Regions from separate parts of the Homo sapiens genome. Here region 1 is linked to region 2. Evidence: promoter capture Hi-C in 16 types of primary human blood cells and fetal thymus (Javierre and others, 2016). All regions are on one chromosome and are shown on one strand. Each heading gives the region's core, a stretch centred on a gene start or on the middle of the fragment in contact. The rest is flanking DNA. Distances are from core to core; before and after follow the strand shown.

Region 1 (3,258 bases), core at 170-2,669, 2.9 Mb after region 2:
CACCTCTGTGCCCACAACACTCCCATTGTGTCGGTCTGGATTGTAGCAGGAAACATATGGAATACTCAGTGTATTCATCTGTTTTCACACTGCTGTAAAGAAATACCCAAGACTGGGTAATTTATAAAGGAAAGACGTTTGATTGACTCACAGTTCAACATGGCTGAGGAGGCCTCAGGAAACTTACAATCATGGCAGAAGGGGAATCAGGTACATCTTACATGGAGGCAGGTGAGAGAAGAGCAAAGGAGGAATTCTCAAACACTTATAAAACCGTCAGATCTCGGCCGGGCGCGGTGGCTCACGCCTGTAATCCCAGCACTTTGGGAGGCCAAGGTGGGCGGATCATGAGGTCAGGAGATCGAGACCATCCTGGCTAACATGATGAAATCCAAAAAAATACAAAATTGGCTGGGTGTGGTGGCACACACCTGTAGTCCCAGCTACTCAGGAGGCTGAGGCAGGAGAATCCCTGGAACCTGGGAGGTGGAGGTTGCAGTGAGCCAAGATCGCACCACTGCACTCCAGCCTGGGCAACAGAGTGAGACTCCATCTCAAAAACAAACACACACACACACAGAAAAACCCCGAAACCGTCAGATCTCATAAGAACTCACTATCATGAGAACAGCATGGGAGGAACTGCCCCCGTGATCCAATCACCTCCCTCCCTTGACACATGGGGATTACAATTCGAGATGAGATTTGGGTGGGGACACAGAGCCAAACCATATCTCAGATTGGGCAATTTGAGGAAAATTTAATAAAATGGCTATTTACAAAGGTATTGGCAAGATACTGGAAAACTACAAAGGATAGTACCCCAGGGCTCACAATAGTTGACATCATTACCACCCCTAGAGTTTAAAAAGTGCACGAAGGGGAGTTCCACTTCTGTGGAGACACTTCCCACTGAAACAACCATAGCTGGAGAAAATTTCTAAGAAAACTTAAAAGTTTCTGGAAATTATCTTAAAGGTATATAAAAAATGAAAAAAAAATTTATTCAATAAAATCTATCACAACTTGGTAAGAACAGAGAGAGTGTGTGGCATTTGAGCCATAATCTGCTCTTTCCAGCCCCGCACCTAGCTCAGCTTCATAGAAGCTCCACTGTGGGTGGATGTGGTCAAGAAGATGGGGCTCACTCTCCCTTCCTCTATCAAACAAGGGATAAGGTGTCTCACAAGAAGGCGAAGGTTGCAAGCATTTCTCATCCACTCCAACTCCAAGTTTAACGCTAAATTCTAGCTAACTGTGGCCAAGAGGCAGGAGGCTCCCTTCCTCCACCAAGCTCCCACTCATGGATGGAGACTATACACTAGGCATAACAGGTCTGGAATACAGGGGTCCTAATTGCCCTCACTCCAGCTTGCTTTCTGGGGTAAACATATATTCTGTGTCCAGTAGAAAAGCTGAGAAGATCAGAGGCTACCATTCCTGCCATGTGCCAGAGTAATGGCTCTGGCATCCAAAAACCAATCAGTGTAATAAGCCATATCAACAGAATAATGGATCAAAACACACGTTCATCTCAATAGATGCAGAATACATATATAAAACAAAATCCAACCTCCTTTTATAATAAAAACACTTACTGAACTAGGGAGAGAAGGGAACGTCTTCAAACTGACAAAAGACACCTATATAAAACCTGCAGTTAACATTACATTTAATGGTCAATGACTGATGGCTTTTCTCTATGATCAGGAGGAAGACAAGAATGTCAGCTTTTGCCATTTTTATTTAACAGTGTACTACAGGTTCTATCCAGTGCAATTAGGGAAGAAAAATAAATGGAAAGCATCCAAATTGGAAAGGAAGTAGTAAAGCTATATCTATTAAAGATGACATGATCTTGTATATAAGAAATTCATCAAAAAAGAAAAAAAAACAGGTAGAACTAATTGTGAAAGGAAAATAAATCTTGGTATCCTAAACTTACTAAGCCAAAGGGAAAAGTCAGGCTGGGAAGTGGGTCATGCAAGCCTGCCTCCCATTTTGGTTCCTAAATAAGATGGCTACACACGTGAAAAGCTACACACCTCCCCTGTGGGCCCCAAGATCTTTACCCTAAAGCATTTATGTTAAAGTTCACCATGGCAATGTAAATTAATAGCTTATCTTCACAGGTGCGGGGACATAGGGCATAACTCAAAGCGATCCCTCTGCCCACCTGAAACAAATGCATATCTGATTTTTTCCTCTCCCCTATCCTCTGTGTTATCTTAAGTAAAAATGCATATTCACAGAGCCAAAGACACGAATGACTCTTTTCCTCCCCCGCAACATGAAAATTGTGCATTTCTCAATATCCCACACTTTCCCCTTTAAACATTGAAGCTCTCAAAATCATCTCTCGAAAAAGGCATAGACATGTCTCCCAGGCACACCCTTAACTTTGGCAAATACACCTCCTTAAAATGATTGAGACTTGCTTTGGTCATTTTCCTTGATTGACATAGTATTGGGTCCAGCGAGGTTGCAGGATACAAAATCAACATGCAAATATCAATTTTATTTCTGTATATTAGCAATGAATAAGCCAAATATGAAATTAAGAAAACAATTTCACCTGTTATATTAGTCCATTCTCACACTACTATTAATATAAAGAACTACCCAAAACTGGGTAATTTATAAAGAGGTTTAAATGACTTAGTTCTGCACACCTGGGAGACCTCAGGAAACTTACAATCATGGTGGAAGGTGAAAAGGAAGCGCAGACCTTCACACGGCAGCGGGAAAGAGACAGCAAGAGCAAGAGCAGGGAAAACTGCCTCTAAAACCATCAGATGGCTGGGCACAGTGGCTCACACCTGTAATCCCAGCACTTTGGGAGGCTGAGGCCGGCAGATCACCTGAGGTCAGGAGTTCGAGAAAATCCTGGCCAACATGGCGAAACCCCTGTCTCTACTAAAAATACAAAAAAAATTAGCTGGGCGTGGTGGCACACGCCCGTATTCCCAGCTACTCGGGAGGCTGAGGCACCAGAATCACTTGAACCCGCGAGGCAGAGGTTGCAGTGCACTCCAGCCTGGGCAACAGAGTGAGACTCCTCAAAAAACAAACAAATAAAACAACAGCAAAAGAAAAACCATCAGATACCTTGAGAACTCACTCACTATCACAAGAACAGCATGGAGGTAACTGCCCCCATGATTCAGTTACCTCCCCCCAGGTCCCTCCCATGACACATGGGGATAATGGGAACTACAACTGAAGATGAGATTTGGGTGGGGAACACAGCCAAACCAT
Region 2 (3,270 bases), core at 135-2,634:
TCTAAAAAAATGTACTGTATCCATTGGAAGGCACAAAAAAAAAAAAAAAAAAAAAATGCAAAGGAAACAAGGCAAAAAACAGCAGACATGAACCCTAAAGCTTGTTAAATGGATTTCAGGTGCCCTCCAGGATCTAAAAACCAGACCCTCCTGCGTTGGGGACCGGGAATCCGTATTTTTGACAAAAAGCAATTCTTCAATTATAGAAACATCCATAGAACCGGCCGTAGTTTACACAGCTGCATTCCCACTGTTTTACAATCGCATGATCATTTCTGAAAAGTTGAAAACAAAGTTAAAGAATATTTAAGGGGTTAAGAACAAAAAGCCTGGGGAACACAAAAGATTATAAAAACCCTTCCCAACAGCAGGCATACTTGGAAGGAAACCTCACATGCAAGGCTCCTTCGTGGAGCCCAGAGCCCAGGTCCTGACGGGAGCACATTTTAAGAGATGGACTTGCCGGCGCGGTGGCTCACGCCTGTAATCCTAGCACTTTGGGAGGCCGAGGCGGGTGGATCACGAGGTCAGGAGATCGAGACCATCCTGGCTAACATGGTGAAACCCCGTCTCTACTAAAAATACAAAAAATTAGCCGGGTGTGGCGGCGGGCGCCTGTAGTCCCAGCTACTCGGGAGGCTGAGGCAGGAGAATGGCGTGAACCAGGGAGGCGGAGCTTGCAGTGAGCGCGATGGCGCCACCGCACTCCAGCCTGGGCGACAGAGCGGGACTCTGCCTCAAAAAAAAAAAAAAAAAAAAAAAAAAAAAAAAAAAAAAAAAGAGATGGACTTGGAGCGTGTGCTTTTGTTTTCTATGCTATTCAATGTGTTCACAGCAGGTCCCCTGGATGAGACCACTTAGCCTTCAGCTCCGGAGGCGACCCAGGCCGGCCTTGCCAGGTCCCTCTCCCTGACAGGCGCCCCGCGACAGGGGTCCCACCCCGTCCCTCCGCTCCTCGCCCCCTCTTTTTCCACTTTCCCTCCCCAGCGAGAACGTTCTGAGAGCTAGGAATGTTCTCTAGGAGGTCGCTTTGACGTCCACACCGCGCCTGGGGGATTCTGCGGGGAGCACAGGACCCTGGGACGAGACGCAGAAGTCGCTCCACGCCCTGGGCGGCCTCAGCTCCCGCGACACCGCAGCAACTCAGAACCCAGGCAGGGGCCGGGCAGCCAGCATGCTGCCCCCACGTTCACCTCCAACTCCCACCTCTCGGCCCTCGCCCCAACCCGCAGGACCCTGGCAGCGCACTGGCTGTCTCCGCGGAAGCCCCCGAGGGCCTCGGCGCGGCCCCGCCCCCTGGAAGGTTCCCGACAGGCGCCGCGGGCACCCCGGCCGTGACGTCACGGCAGCGCGCCGGCCGCGAGAGAGGGCCCCGTCGCGACCGCGTCCCCTTGGGTCCTTGATCCTGAGCTGACCGGGTAGCCATGGCCTTGCGGCTCCTGAAGCTGGCAGCGACGTCCGCGTCCGCCCGGGTCGTGGCGGCGGGCGCCCAGCGCGTGGTGAGCGGGCGGCGGGGTGGCAGGGTGGCGGGGTGGCAGGGTGGCGGGGTGGCGGGGTGGGGAGCAGTTCCACATCTCCCCCGGCCTCTGGCGGCGGCTCCCAGGTCGCTCTCCGGGTGGGTTTGGGGGACCCCTCCTGCCTCCGGAATTGTTTGGTCTTTGGTCGTGGACAGACCTCAGGGGGCCACGAGCTTCTCCAGGCCATTTTATCTCAGCTTTAAGCAAAACGCTGGAGCGCGGAGGTGATCAGGGCCCCGAGGCTGCCCTGATGCGGGAGGCCCGTGTGCAGGTGGCAGGCCGGGGGCACACGCGCTTGTCATTAGATAATTCACGTAGCAGCCCTGTCAAGAGCCGTTTAAAGGTCGGGCCCTGCTGGGTGCTTGGGTGATGCCATGTTGAGCAGACACGGAGTTCAGTGCTTGTGTCCGCTTCCTTTTGCCTTTACTCTGACTGACTACTCTCATTTCTTAGCATTTTGCCCCCACCTTCTTCAGTGAAATCGTTTCATACATTTGTAACACAGTTGGATTGCTTTGTCACATTCTGCCTTACATCTTGGGATCCTTCTACCTAATGCGTTTTTTAAAATGTGCATACATTGAGCGCATTCTTTGTGCTATAAGGTTCTATGGATTTTTTCTTTGTGCTATAAGGTTCTATAGGTTTTGACACGTGTGTAATAGCATGTCTCCACCATTATAGGTTCGTACAGAGTAGCTTCACTGCCTTAAAAAATTCCCCTCTGCTTTACCTATTAAACCCTTCTTTTTCTCCAACCCCTGACAACCACAGATCTCATTAACATTTCCATAGTTGCCTTTTCTGGAATGTCATATAATTAGAATCATACAATATATTGCCTTTTCAGACGCCTTGAATACTTGGAAATATCTATGTAAGATTCACTTATGTCTTCGTGGCTTGGTAACTCATTTCTTTTTAATCACTGAGTAATATCTCATTGCATGGATGTACTTCAATTCATTCAGCAATTGAAGGGCATCTTGGTTGCTTCAAGTTTTTGGCAATTATGAATAAAGCTGCTGTAATCGTGTACATGCAGATTTCTTTTTGGAAATACATTTTTATATCATTTGGGTAATACCTGGAAGAGCGATTACTCATGTAGTAAGACTAGTTTTCTAAGAAGCTGCCAAGCCATCTTCCAGAGTGACTGTGCCATTTGACTCCCACCAGAAGTGAAGGCTCTCCTTGTTGCTCTGCGTGCTCGCCAGCATGCGGGGCTGTCGGTTACTTTGGATTGCTATCCATTCTGATAGCTGCGTAGTGGTATCTTGTTTCAACTTTGGAATATCTCATGATATACAGTGTTCATCTTTTCATATACTTATTTGCTATCTGCGTTAATTTCATTTGCGAGAGGTGTTTACATCTTTTGCCCATTTTTAAATTGGGTTGTCTGCTTTGCCTTGTTTTGTAACTTGTTTCTTCCTTACTCTTCAGTTATCAAATCAAGATCGAAAAATATCTTGATATTTCATATTCTCCTGTTTTATTTAAATTTCACTATAAAGTATTTTAATATTTTTGTGTTTTTCTGAGTACTTAGTATTCCATAATATGGATATGCCTTAATTTTGTTTAACTATTCCTCCGTTGTTGGACATTTAAGGGTTTCTATTTGCATTTTTGGTGTTACATCATACTTCATTGAGCATCCTTATAGGTCAATCTTATGTATATACTCTTTGAATGGATTCCTAATGCTGTAGACCCAGCGTCCTCTAGGTTTCATTACCATTAGCAGTTT

What was found. The method cuts DNA at HindIII sites, captures the fragments that hold promoters and counts their contacts. A CHiCAGO score of 5 or more calls a contact.
Region 1: a contact is called between a fragment that was not itself captured here and the fragment with the promoter of NDUFA10 in region 2, in 1 of 17 cell types (total B cells). The highest score is 5.2, in total B cells.

Annotation. Positions count from the first base shown.
Region 1 is chr2:237,078,483-237,081,740 of GRCh38, reverse strand. All of the region lies in intron 1 of COPS8-DT (COPS8 divergent transcript), which reads left to right. Among named protein-coding and RNA genes, the nearest start is that of COPS8-DT, 5.7 kb to the left of the region's middle. The HindIII fragment of the contact is 6,185 bases long and covers 1-3,258 here.
Region 2 is chr2:240,023,456-240,026,725 of GRCh38, reverse strand. It overlaps NDUFA10 (NADH:ubiquinone oxidoreductase subunit A10), which reads left to right and starts at 1,384. Exons shown (of 10, transcript NM_004544.4): 1 at 1,384-1,499. The coding sequence starts at 1,425. RefSeq lists an enhancer at 560-1,389 and a silencer at 1,198-1,457. The HindIII fragment of the contact is 3,872 bases long and covers 103-3,270 here.